5 separate regions of the Homo sapiens genome follow, and all the other regions are linked to region 1. Evidence: promoter capture Hi-C in human tissues and cell types (Jung and others, 2019). All regions are on one chromosome and are shown on one strand. The core of a region is centred on a gene start or on the middle of the fragment in contact, and the rest is flanking DNA. Distances in the headings are between cores, read along the strand shown.

Evidence for each region. Contacts are between HindIII fragments. The study calls those that stand out against the background at their distance.
Region 2: a fragment that was not itself captured here is called in contact with the fragment with the promoter of NRN1 in region 1 in 1 of the 25 tissues and cell types used here (spleen).
Region 3: a fragment that was not itself captured here is called in contact with the fragment with the promoter of NRN1 in region 1 in 1 of the 25 tissues and cell types used here (bladder).
Region 4: a fragment that was not itself captured here is called in contact with the fragment with the promoter of NRN1 in region 1 in 1 of the 25 tissues and cell types used here (thymus).
Region 5: a fragment that was not itself captured here is called in contact with the fragment with the promoter of NRN1 in region 1 in 1 of the 25 tissues and cell types used here (mesenchymal stem cells).

What each region holds. Positions count from the first base shown.
Region 1 is chr6:6,005,555-6,008,254 of GRCh38, forward strand. It overlaps NRN1 (neuritin 1), which reads right to left and starts at 1,371. Exons shown (of 3, transcript NM_016588.3): 1 at 1,141-1,371. The coding sequence starts at 1,195. The HindIII fragment of the contact is 19,231 bases long and covers 1-2,700 here.
Region 2 is chr6:5,692,906-5,695,605 of GRCh38, forward strand. The region is part of intron 6 of FARS2 (phenylalanyl-tRNA synthetase 2, mitochondrial); the gene reads left to right. LOC101927950 (a long non-coding RNA gene) reads right to left here and starts at 2,367. Exons shown (of 4, transcript NR_110842.1): 1 at 2,240-2,367; 2 at 1,977-2,103. The HindIII fragment of the contact is 5,103 bases long and covers 1-2,700 here.
Region 3 is chr6:6,402,009-6,404,708 of GRCh38, forward strand. The region is part of intron 4 of LY86-AS1 (LY86 antisense RNA 1); the gene reads right to left. Among named protein-coding and RNA genes, the nearest start is that of F13A1, 83 kb to the left of the region's middle. The HindIII fragment of the contact is 3,779 bases long and covers 1-2,700 here.
Region 4 is chr6:5,736,241-5,738,940 of GRCh38, forward strand. The region is part of intron 6 of FARS2 (phenylalanyl-tRNA synthetase 2, mitochondrial); the gene reads left to right. Among named protein-coding and RNA genes, the nearest start is that of NRN1, 270 kb to the right of the region's middle. RefSeq lists an enhancer at 1,278-1,779. The HindIII fragment of the contact is 3,779 bases long and covers 1-2,700 here.
Region 5 is chr6:5,592,005-5,594,704 of GRCh38, forward strand. All of the region lies in intron 5 of FARS2 (phenylalanyl-tRNA synthetase 2, mitochondrial), which reads left to right. Among named protein-coding and RNA genes, the nearest start is that of FARS2-AS1, 140 kb to the left of the region's middle. The HindIII fragment of the contact is 9,548 bases long and covers 1-2,700 here.

The DNA.
Region 1 (2,700 bases), core at 121-2,620:
ATGGAAAAAACATATTATGCATTCTCCTTTCTTGCCCCAAACCAATTACCTAAAGCACCCCCTCCCCCAATACTGCAAGGATTTGTCTGCAAAGAATGCCACAGCCTGAACTGATAGGAGGTAACAATTCCGTTTCAGGAGTTTCTTTTTTCCCCCGTGTTGTCCATTCTATTAATAACCTGCTTCACTTTCACTTTTAGGCCACGTTAATTAATGTTCTGACCCAGTGTCGGAGAAGGGGGTTTTCTAGTGCCCTCTTCTATATCTTTTCTTCATTCTGGATGGTAAAAATGTGAACTTTAAAAAGACCCCTGACAGCGTAACTACAACTCAACATTCCTTAACATAAAATGGGGACTAAATAATTCCTTCCATAACCAATCCCAAACAAACAAAAATAACAAACACCCGACATGACATATTCCAAACACTTCTTAACCCTTTCCTATATATAAAATGCAGACACCAATGTGTAAAGTAGCAGGCAAATGCATCTAGAAAAGTATATCTACGTAAATTTGGCTGAATTCATCCTCTTCAATGGTAAGCATGTTAAAATATGTGGTCTGAAGTTCCCTATCACTCTCGATTTGCCCACCAGCCGGGTCTGCGGTGCCCGTGCAAACGCTGCAGCTAGGATATAGGGGGGAGGAGGGGCGGGAGAATGACAAAGTTCTAAATGCAGCAGTCTGAGCCCTGGAATATCTTTGCTTTCAGCACATAAACTTTCCAGTCCTGGCTGCCTAGCCATTTTATTCCTGCATTCACATTTCGACTCTTCAAAATCATATCTTGCAGTATCGCAGGGGCCAGTACATTGCCCCAGAGCGCACCAAACCTGGTATAAACCCAGAAAGGGAAACAAAAATGGATGTGTGCTCAGGAAAAAGGGGGAAAAAAACCGTGTCCAGAAAATGTCCGGCCGCACACATTTCCTGGCGAACATTTGGAATCTATAGCTTTAGGAAAAACCGATCTGGGACGCGCTAGTCCCCAGGAACTGATGCCCCCACCCTCGGGGGATTGCCGGCTTCTCCGCACCCTGGGGCGGCCGCGGACCCGCTAGTCCCCCTCCGCGCCTCGGGCCGGGGCAGGCTGCCTCCCGCCTCCAGCCTCCAGCCGGGCTGAGCGGCCACTTACCTATTTGCACCGCGAGGATCAGTGAAATATATCTGCCGTTCAACTTAAGTCCCATCCTACGTTTAGTCAAACCATTTGCGACCGCAGACCTTTAAATAGTTAGTTTAGAGAACGCGGGGGAAAGCCAAAAAATAGGCATTGCCAACAAGTTCCGGGAGCGACAGAGACTTTATGCACTGGGAAGGCAGAGGGAGGAGAGAAAGAGAGGGAGCGAGGAAGAGACAGAAAGAGAGAGAGAGAGAGAAAGAGAGAGAGAGAGAGAGGCTGAGGGGGGGGGGAGAGCTGGGAATGGTTCACTCCATTAGAAGGGGGCGGAGGAAGTACAGCCTCACGCCCACGAGCAGGCCTGACGTGGGGGATGACACGGAATGATTTTTTTTTTAATATAGACACCTTGGTAGAGAATCGCCATTTATAGTCATCAGAAGCTGGAATTAATCAGATATCTCCAATTAATGTGCGATCTGAACGAAATTTTGCCTCCCGGGGGTGAGCACTTTCCTATTCTAGCGGTCACCCCTGCCTCTTCCTCGTTCCGGGGGCCCCCCAGCCCCGCCGCCTCCCTGCGCAGAACAGGGGCTCCCCCTCCCTTCCCCGCCAGGAGCTGGGGAGTCCTGGCGCGCCCACTCGATTGTTTCAACCTGCTCCCCCTCCTCCATCAGCACCACAGAGAATCCAGCCCGCTCTCTACGATGCAGGGGGGTTTAAAGGAGCGGGAGAGGGAAAAACAGCTAAGCTAGCTCGATTAATTCGAAAGCGCTCCTCGGCCGCCCGCCCCCTGCGCTTGCCTACCCTCTTTTTCTCCAACCCAGCAGCTGAGCTCTGGGCGCAGCCTGGAGCGCGTGAGCACGCAGCCCGGCCCCCCGCACGAGCACACACACACACACACACACACACACACACAAACGCGCGCGCGCACGCCCGCCAGCCGCGCCGAGCGCCCCCATGCCCGCCCGCACACAAGGCACGCGAGCGCGCGCACACGCCCAGGCCCCGGGGGTTTGGTTTGCACACGTGGGGCCCCAGAAATAAACACCGAATGTCCTCTGAATTTTACCCACCTGCGATGCCCCAGCGGGCCAAAGGCCGCTTCAAGGGACACAGCGACACCTGTTTTAGGGGGCGAGTAGGGCACCGGGGAAGGAGCCTCTGATAAGACAGTTTTCGGATACTAGTGATTTACCAACCAACTCTCAGCGCTTTAGGAAATTTCCAAGGCAAGCGCTGGTGTGCGGACTTCTTTCTAATCTTGATGCGCCTCTTGGGCTTATTTGTTGGGCTACACACACACGTACCCACACGCACACACGTACATCACGTACGCACACGCACACCCGGACCCACACACACCTGCACTGTCTTTTGATGCTCAGGCACAGACCCTGTGTAGGTGTAGCCTACCCTGCAACAAAATACTTCTGCAGCTGGCTTTGTGCTAGGTGCAAGCTGCTATCGACGACAGCTTGAGTCAAAACCGAAAAACTAACAGGGCTATTTCCTTTCTAAACGCCTTTAAGCTCTGGTTTTCTTCCTTTCTTCTGCACCAAACAGAAAAAAAAA
Region 2 (2,700 bases), core at 75-2,574, 310 kb before region 1:
GGTAATACTCTGGCTCTTTATCCCACCTCCTTTTTTTCTCCCCACCAGAAATGAGGATCCTTATAGATTCAGGTTAGTCAATACCATATTTCCCTTCCCCATCCCGTTGTTTTGTGTTAGACTTTGTATTAGAGAATTTGTATTTCATCTGTTTTGCAAAACAAATATTAACAATAAGTTATTATTGTACTCTTCTGGCATAGTAACATCCTGTTAGTTTACTTTACACATAGCAAATCCAGCCTGACATTCATCTTTAATGATCTCAGGATAAATGGTTTTAAGGTTAAACAGCCACAGAGACAACTGTCACACGTTGTCAGCTGGAACAGATGAAAGAGAAAAATGTGGCATCTGAAAAGCAACTTGCAAAATGATCTAAATATTTTACTTTATTTTCAGAAAACCCTCACCAGATCTGCCCCCTCACCACTAATCCTGGAGCAGCCTGATGACTTATGGGGAATCCATTGCTTAGCTTTGATGTAGGGAGGGAGAGATGAACGACTGCCTCCCAAAGCGTGGCTGCTGAGCAGGATATTAATGGGCAAGGCGGCTAATGCGTTTGCATTGTTCTGCAGAAGTTTTGCACTGCTTTGGGGAATCATTTATCCTTAGCAGTTGCAAGGTGGCCTGTTTTCAAGTAAACCTAGAGTAAAAATCTGGTTATCTATTGCCATGTAACAAACTGCCTCAAAACTTTGTGACATAAAGCACTGATTTTATTGTGCTCACGTGTCCTTGTCTCCATTCTGTGATGCTGGGGCCTTGTCTGGGAAGACTCGAAGACTGGGAGTGACTGCTTGGCTAGGCTGGGATGAGGCATCTTTACTTACACATCTGGCACTGGACGCTGGCTGGCTGCTGGGACTTGCTGGGGTGATGGCTGGAGAACATTTCACCTCTCCAAGCGGCCTGGCCTTCCTTACTGCAGTGTCTTCTGAATTGTTAGCTTCCTTATATGGTAGCAAGTGTGCAAGTCAGCAGGTGGAAGCTCCGCTATCTTTGTCACCTAGCCTCAGAAGTCACATAGCATCATTTCCACCGCCCTCTACTAGCGGGAGCAGTCATAAAAGCCCACCCATTTTCAAGGCAAGAGGTCATAGCCTGCGCCTCTCAAAGGGAGGATTGTCAAAGCCGCACTGGAAGATCATGTAAGTTGGATGATAGCATTGCTGCTGTATTTGAGAGATTGTGCTGTGCTCTATGTAGAGGTTTCTGTAGGAAATAAACAAGTTGAGTTCTCTGGTGAAAACACATCTGAAAACATGTTAATAGGAATATAGCTAATCCTTAGCATTTCTTATAGTAGCTAAGGTCAGTGTATGCTAGGCCTGGTACCTGAGCAGCAGTCTTGATGCTAAGTTAACAACAGGTAGCCAACAGGAGTGTTTTCTAGCTATTTGGAAATTGAAATTCAACCAAAAAAGCTACTGCCACTCTGAATCAGTTACATCATGATACCTTAGATCTAGGCTACCTTTTTTCCTGAATAATAGAAGGTTACATTGATTAGAAATTATGGGGAAAGTAGATTCCTTCATATAAGAATTGGTTAAAGTTTGACTCTGTTCTCTGTTAAAGTAAGCAGCTTTTTAAATAATTGAGTTCTTTGGAGGAGTTTTTATATTTTATATATTTTTTACCTATTTAGCCATGATAAATAGAATCAGATAAGAGACCGAGTGTGAATATTCAGCACGACCTTCAACCAGGTGTATATATTTCTCTCTATGTTCTAAAGGACTCAGCAATGTGTAGTGCCTATGAGTTCTCATTTGAAAAAGGAGGAATCCTATATGGAATGCCATGTAACGGCCAGGTGCAGTGGCTCATACCTATAATCCCAGCCCTTTGGAGGCCTAGGCAGGAGGATTGCTTCAGGCCGGGAGTTTGAGATCAGCCTGGCAACATAGTGAGAACCCCCCACACCTCTACAAAAAAAAAAAAAATTAGCCAAACTTGCTGGCACGCACCTGTAGTCCTGGCCATTGGGGAGGCTAAGGTGTGAGGATCGTTTGAGCCCTGGAAGAGTTCGAGGCCGCAGTGAGCTATGCTCACACTATTGCACTACAGCCTGGGTGATAGAGCAAGACCCCATCTCTAAAAGAAAAAAACAGATATATATAAATGCCATGTAAGCTTTTACACTTGTATTTCTTGTCTCAATTCTGGTTTTTTCTTGAGCAATTTCTTCTTTTCATTCTCATGAAAGTTAAGGTGATGACGCTGTGCTTACCCACAAACTGTGTATCCACGTAGCCTTCACTGCCATTTGTCCTGAGCCTTTTCAAGAAGCATAAATCCCAGAATGATCGAAACATCTCTTAGATCCCAGAGTGACTTAAGATCCATGCTAGGAATTAATCCTGCTTCCTAGGAAGTTACACAACAGCAGCATTTGTGGCAGTGCCACAGCAAGCCAGGGACTGGCCCACGGGCGGTACGCTGTCATTCCCAGTGCTTTCTCTGCCTTCCAGAGAAACAGGAATTTGCCACATGTCTGTGACTCATTTGCTGGAGCTGTTAAGTGGTGATGGTGTTTAAAATCTCAGGGAAGTAAAGCCACCATTTACTGAACACTTCCTGTGTGCCGTGCACTCAGTTGTAACCACATTATTTTACTTGGTCTTGACGAGAAGCCTTTAAAGGCACTTTTATTATCCCAATTTTACAGATGAGGAAATTGAAGTTCTGGGA
Region 3 (2,700 bases), core at 81-2,580, 400 kb after region 1:
GTTGATGGGCATAATCAACCTTGATTATCATTAGGATCTATGGTTGCTGCTGGCTAAAGGTGGCACAGAAGAGTATATCAAGGACTCAGGGATGGCTTTTTGTGCTTCTGTGTCCAGTAATAACCATGAAAGAGCAGTCAGCAATCATGGCATGACTAGGGCACAGTAACCAGTAACTCAGAAGCTTCAGTATCAATGTCTGGGCCACCGATTGCACAAGAAACCCAAGCAGAAGTGTTGAATGAGCGTGAGGAGCATCTAGAGTGGACAGTAAAAGAGGGAGGTAAATGTCTATTATGTCCTTGGGATCAACTGAAGCAGCAGGGACTGTAGCTGGTCCTATTAATCCTCCTACTGAACTTTGCTTTGTTGTGTTTTAAAGAAATTATGGCTGGATTTCACTGTGAAGAATCAGTTATCAGACAGAGTGAACTTAAGATGGGACAGAATTTGACCACAGCAGTGCAAGTATTGAGGCTTCACCCATATTTTCTTGATATCCACTGTTCCCTTACAGGCAGATGGCTTTTAGCTGTAAGCATCTGTGACCCTCTTGCAGAGGGAATTCTCTAATCACGAGGAATTCTTGGTCTATGTGCACGACAGGCCTGAAGTGCCAGAAAGTTCATTCCCTCACAAGACGATCTCAATATGTCAGTCAAGAGTGGGTGGATAAATAACCAATCCGCCCCCACTCGAGTAGGACAATTCTGAAGCAGATTATATGTAGTGTCCCAGAAGCAAGCCCTCCAGTGGGATGGAGCTCCAGCTGCCCACATGGTAACAGCTCATTAATGAAGCCCGCAACGGCCTCCTTCCCTTCCTTGTCTCACTTCCTCAGCCCAACTGATTTCTTCTATAATAAGTCCTAATAACTCCTCAAAGGTTAAGTGTCTTCAGCAAGCCACAGCAAGGTTGTTTCCTTGGTAATGAAAGAAAAAAGAAAGCATTATAATAAATCTGAAAATATTATTCCCAAAGGAAGGTCTGTAATAAGGAAATTACATGGCATGGTATAATGTATGTTTTTAAAACAAAATAATGACTTCTTTGTAGAAAATTGATCAAAAGGAGACCAACTGTAAGTTATTACAGCATCTCAGACAAGAAATGGTGGTGGCTTGGCCTAGAGTCTTAGAAGTGAAGATGTATTACTTCTTAATTCCAACAGTGCGTCTGGGTTTTACACAAACCTTTTTGTAAACAAAAACCTGCAATTTAATCTGGTAAGGCTGTCTTGTTACAAGCTTGGACTAAAGCAATCAGTGAGAAAAAAAATTGCCTATCCAGGGATGGATTCAATGTTGACTCTTTAGAACCAGGTCCAACTAGTTTAGTGAACATTTTATAAAACAGCAACAAAAATATAAAATTATATAAAGCCCATGTGTTACCAAAACTGTAGATACCCTGGTCTTTGAAGTGTCATTGTCATCACTACTATGATGGAAAAAGTATAACATAATGATTAGTTAAGAGTCAAAGAAGGGAACCCTAGCTGCCTGGATTCAAATCTATGATCTGTCCATTAATAGAGAGATGACTTAACTTTCTGAAGCTTACTCAGTTCCCTCAACTATAGAGTGGAAATAATCATAGTATTTATCATAGCTTTATTTGTAAAGATTAAGTGAGATAATACAAAAATGAATAAACAAACATCATTAGGTATCCTGCAGACATTAAGCACAGAAGACTATTATTAACAACTTTCTGTCAAGAGAATTGATAATTTAGATGAAATAGACAAATTTCTAAAAAATACATCTTTTTAAAACTGATTTAAGAAGAAATAAGAGGAATAAACTGTAATATAACCATCAATGAACTTGAATTAGTAATCCAAACTCTCTCCACGATGATAATCCAAGGATATTTAACTTCCTTCACTAGATGATCTCACAAAATATTCAAGGAAAAAATGCTGATAGTTTTATCAAACTCTTTAAATAAGAAAAAGAGGGACACGTTCCTCAGTTCACCTTATGATTCTAGCAACACCTTGATGCCGAAATTCAATAAGGATAGTAAAACAAGAGGAAGAAAATAACAGACTGATCTTATCTATAAACATAAATGCAAAACGAATGAATAAGACATCGGCAAATGTAATCTAGCAATTTTCAAAAGGAAGAAATGACCAAATTGAATTCACCCGAGGAATGTAGGGTTGTTTCAACATTAAAGAAAAAAATATGTTGCTGTGATTAGCCACACTCACAGATCAAAGGAAAAAAGTCCACATAAACAACGTTAATAGATGCAGAAAAAAATGTTTGCTACATTTCAACATCCATTCATCATGAAGTGCCATCATAAAGTAGAATAAGATGAAACTTTCTTAATTTGCTGAGGGGAATCTACAAAAAAAACAACATCAAATATATTTTCTTTTACTTCATTTGGGTTTATTTTGCTGTTCTTTTTCTAGTTTCCTGGAAAGATGCTTAGTTCATTACTTTTGTGACTTTCTTTTATCTTACATATTCACCTTGAGGATATAAGTTTTTCTCTAATCCTGCCCTTAACTGTGTCCTATGAGTTCGAATATGTGGTATTTTTCTTAGCATTTTGTTTAATATATTTTCAAGCATCCATTATCCCTTCTTTGACTCATTGGTTATATAGAAATACATTTATGTATTTTAAAACACAGAGAGATGTCCTAGTCTTTCTTTCTTTAAAATTGCCTTTTTTTTT
Region 4 (2,700 bases), core at 49-2,548, 270 kb before region 1:
GGAGTGACCCAAGAGCAGGGAGAGGCCACATGTCTTGAGTAGCCTGGCTTTGGAAGTGACACACCATCACTTCTGCCATATTCTCTTGAACACACAGACTGACCCTGGTCCATTGTGGGAGGGGCCACACAAGACAGGAACACCAGGAGGTGGGGATCTCTAGGGGGCATCTCTGGAGATTGCCACCACAGGTGGCACATTCTTGTCTCTGGAGAGCTGAGAGAATTCTCCTCCTCCTCCTCACAACTGTTGCCTCTAAAAAGACCAGCGCAAATAGGGCAAGCAGCCCTTCAGAATAAGGTTATGTCCACATTGATTCTAAGACATGTCACCTGATTATTTTTTGGATTGTATTCAAGTGCAAAAGCTCAACTGATAGTAGTTTAAAAACAAGCTAGAAACTATTTTTCCAGCTTAACCTTAAGGGATTTTTTTTTTTAAAAAATTGCATGTACCCCTTGCTATTTATCCTAGAAATGGCTGCAGAGCTTTAAATATAGACCAGCATGAATTCAACTCTTGCATAAATTTAAACCACATAGGTGCTAGAATACCCCTTTTTTAATCCAGAAGGGAGAGTTATCTAAGAGTGATGGGTAAGTACATGGCAAACCAATTTACTGCCTCAGCTGCTGTAATGTGGAATAACTTGCATCCCATCTCACTCATCTCTCTTCTGTCTCCACCATGCCCATTAGCACGTGAGTTTGCTCCCTTCCTCTCGCCCTCCACACTAAGGCAGATTATTTTGGATGAAAACATTCATTTAAATTTACTCTACTTTCCCTTCACCCTATGAATTAATGTAAGGAAATGAAATCAGACTTCACAGGTACCATACATTAGCAACACAGATGACCCTGCGTGAAGGGAGATCACACAGTTACTTCCATCAGAAGTAAAACTGAGCCTCGAAAACTTCACAGAAATACACTCAGAGCCACTCAAAAGGGATCCTGAAAGGCAATGGGGGAAACAAGAAATAGAATAGGCTTCAGAAATAAGATCCTGGCCGGGCGCAATGGCTCACGCCTATAATCCCAGAGCTTCGGGAGGCCAAGGTGGGTGGATCACGAGGTCAGGAGTTTGAGACCAGCCTGGCCAACATAGTGAAACCCCGTCTCCACTAAAAATACAAAAATTAACTGTACGTGGTGGCATGTGCCTGTAGTCCCAGCTACTCAAGAGGCTAAGGCAGAAGAATTGCTTGAACCCAGGAGGCGGAAGTTGCAGTGAGCCAAGATTGTGCCACTGCAGTCCAGCCTGGGCGACAGAGCAAGACCCTGTCTGAAAAAGAAAGAAGATCCTATGGGAAGGGAAGTGAGCCCCCTCCCTGCTTTCTGGAATAGTGTGAGTGGCAGATGGCATTGGTCAGCTGACCTAGCCTGCATGCATAACTTCCCCATCCCAGCCTAGAGGTGGTCATGTGACCCAGTTTTGGCCAATGAGAATAAGCAGAAATTTCTGGATGAGGTTCCCTGAGGGCTTTTTGTCTGGCATGCCCCTTTGGCCTTTTACCATGTACCCTTCTTCCGTCTATCTGTGCATTGCTGATAGGAGGACTGGAGAGGGAGCAGCCATCTTGCAACCCATGAAGACCGTGGCTTGCTTCCTAAGGATGGTGGGACAGAAAGAAGAGCCCAGATTCCCCATGGCACTATTAGCAGTTGCTTTGTTCTGCATACCTTCAGAATTCGTTGTTATTATTCTTGTTGTTGTTGTTGTTTAGAGACCACATCTTGCTCTGTCACCCACGCTGGAGTGCAGTGGTGCAATCATGGCTCACTGTGATCTTGAATTCTTAGGCTCACGCAATCCTCCCACTTCAGCCTTCTGAGTACTTGGGACTACAGATGCACACCACCACGCCCAGCTAATTTTTTAATTTTTTTGTAGAGACAGGGTCTCACTATGTTGCCCAAGCTGGTCTCAAACTCCAGGCTCAAGCAATCCTCCTGCCTTGGCCTCCCAAAGTGTTGGGATTACAGGCATAAGCACCACACCCAGCTACTTCTAGAATTTTTTAAATGTGTCCTTTTTCTTTTGTTGAATGCAGCTGCCCTCATCAGAAGTGACACAGTATGCCAGAGCTCTGAAGAGATTGAATATGTTGCTGTACTGCAAACAGTCAGAGGAAACAGAACCCTAAAAGATGTATGAATAGAACAGGTTCTTTCAGTGTACATTACTACGATCCAAAGTGAGGTCAATGAGTAAGAGATTCAGAATATGTCCAAAGATGAATGACAGAGAGCATCATCATTTCTTAGAAGTAAAACAGCAAGAACAGAGTTTTTCCTGTTTACTGGGTACAAAGCTATCTACATAATTATAAGGGATGTTTTTATTGCCAGAAACATCTAACTTTTATAAAAGCTTAAAGTAGTTTTTTTAATCATTATTTCTGTAAAATGTTTTTATTAAAGGAAACACCATATGGTAACAGCAAGAAGAGTTGGTTACGAGTCACGAAGCTAGTCAGATTTCTTTCCAACAGTTAAAATAAAAAAACTTAACACAGACCATACATTTAGAAAAAAAAAATGCAGTTTCAAGACTCCTGAAAGCATAAAACTTTAACCAAAGAGTTGCGTGTGTATCGTTGTCGGTTTTTTTCATTTTCTAGAACGTAAGACAAAATCTTGGAACGCTTAGGGGTTATATTCATAATATTTAACAGCCAGCGCAGCCTGGACAATG
Region 5 (2,700 bases), core at 124-2,623, 410 kb before region 1:
GATGGGTCGATTGATGCCAAAGTGTTTGCAGACAATACATTTTGTAGATGCTCATATTTTTATATGGCTGCTCTAGCCTTTTAAAATATGCCATATTTGGCTGAGCGCGGTGGCTCACGCCTGTAATCCCAGCACTTTGGGAGGCCAAGGTGGGAAGACTGCTTGAGCTCAGGAGTTTGAGACCAGCCTGGGCAACATGGGAAAACTCCATCTCTACAAAAAAATACAAAAATTAGCCACACATAGTGGTATATGCTTTTAGTCCCAGCTACTTGGGAGGCTGAGGTCAGGGAATCACTTGAGCCCAGGAGGTTGAGGCTACAGTGAGCCGTGATCACGCCACTATACTCCAGCCTGTGTGACAGAGCGAGACCTTGTCTCCAAAAAAAAAAAACAGAAAAGAAAAACAAAACAACAACAACAAAAAACAAACCTGCCATATTTACTTTGACTGGTTCAAATCTTTAAGAGACACAGCCTCTACTATCACTTGTAATATTTTAAATCCCTTGAAAACAGTGGTGTGATCTTACAGTAGAAAATTCACCAACCTGCCAACCCTGAAATAGACTGAGCCTCTACCCCAGACTCTTTCTTTGTTTATTGGATTTATCTAGTGCCTTTGCTTTAGAGCTGAGAGGACATATGCTAGGCACCTGGAGAGATCCCGTATTTCAAAACAACCGATAGCCAGTAAGAATGGGGAAGGCAGCAGACGCCGTCTCTGATGTTGATATACCCTGCTTTGTCTCCCCTCGCTTTCCCTTAGCAAAGAAATGTTTCATATTCGCAGCACAGTCAGTACTCCTTGCCTGCCACGAGGCCCAGAGCGAGAAAAGCCCAGAAAGGAGGACCTAGCAGGTACCCAGGCCTCTTGAAGTCACAGCTGGTGGCATGAGGGACCAACCATCCATCACACTGGGCCACACAGCGCCTGGTCACAACCTGCTTGCAGCCCAGCCTCTTAAGGCGATCGGCGCTTCTTCTCTCTCTGCCTCATCTCACAAATCTTCCCTCTGGCCCTCACCCTCCTCCCATCTCTGCTTTCTGCCTTATCTCCTTGTCACAGTACTAGAAAGGGTGAGCCGACCAAAGCCGTCCTGAGCAATGCCGTGCTTCTGGTTCATTAGCAGCACACAGAACAAGTGAGGAGGGGTGGACAGAACAGACAGGATCCTGCCGACCGTGAGTGAGTAACAGGCGTATCCATGCAAGGTTTTCCAGCTCACGCAAAGCCGTGTCTCTTGGAAGGTTACCCCTATGGCTCCTCCATGAAGGAACTGCACCTCCCGCCCCCACCGGCCTCTGCTGGTGCCTTTCCAAACACAGAGGTGCACGGCCGTACCCAGTAAACAGTTATCTTCACAGTGCAGGGGCAAAGTGATACCTGTAAGAGAAGGTGCAGCAAGAGAACATGTTGCAGAGAAACACCTCCAACTGAAATGATGAGCCAGTGGGTGTCTTTTTATGCCCATCGTCTTCCACCTCCCTCTCCACAAAAATAAATAAATTAAAGAAATTCAGCACCTGTGGACAACTCTGCCAAAAGGAAGTTACCTCCTGTGTGGTTTGTCACATTCAGGTTCTTCACACTTTCCGTGGGAACAAAGGCTGTCTCCATATTACCTGTCAAGTAAGGACAATGGTGAGGCTCCGCAAACCACTTTGAATCCTTGGGTTATTTGGGGAGGAAGTTATTGAAAAAAATAGCCCATAGGAAAATGTTTCATTCGATTTTATTCAGGCTCAGGCGAATTTTTTATGGCATTTCGGGGCAGTGGAGAAGCCATGGGGACAGGAAGATGGTCGGAGAGTCCTGTGCCAGTCAGAATGTAGGGCTGTATTTTCTGGCTCATTGCTATTGTTCAAACACAATTAATGATGGCCCCACAGGGTAGCAGGTGGCTGAACACACAGCAGCTAAATCCCTGGCTAAGGGTCTGTGGAAGGAGTGTTTCCACGTGGCAGGCATGGGGACAGGCACCTCCAGTCCTGTTCCATACTCCTTCACCCTTCCTGACATTGATTCCCAGGTCCCTCACCTAGTTGGGAGTTCTCTTCTGACATCGCTGAGTATTTTTTGGGTGGAAGGGAAAGAAACTTGAGGGCATGTAGGCCTAGGATCTTTTCTTTGCAGGGATGGGGACCCTTCAGTGTAGGGCATAGTACTTGGAGAGTGTTTTCTTGTTGAGTATCACAAGAGGAGAGGGAGCTGGTACCTTTGAAGTTCCCCTCGATGAGCAGAGGATTCGTGCCTGAAGCACCTTTGTCATTCCCTGAGCAACTTATCAACACCCTTGTTCCTTCAGTTCTTTGTTTAAATTTATGTTGTGAATTGGTTTTTCTGTGTTTTCTTTCTGTACTTTATTAGAATCTGGTGCGATAACAGGGATAAAGACCACAGACTTCTTGATAAATTTGTTTCTCCCTTCCTTCTTTGCCGCATCAGTGAGGTCGAGGCAGGAGACAGAAACCATGCCATTTGTTTGGTTTTTAATACAGAGAATTTAAACTAAAGAAATGTTAGCCTTTGAGGGAGGTAATTAAGAAGTCAAGAGGAGAACGTGGAGGTTATCATGGAGGTAGATGGCAGAAAGCAGCTCCCCACCCTGGGGCTGAGGGAACAATCGAAGAGGCTGGAATTAATGAAACTTAAAACCTCAGTGGAGGGTCCTTCAGAGCTAAGGCCCAGACCCCTGA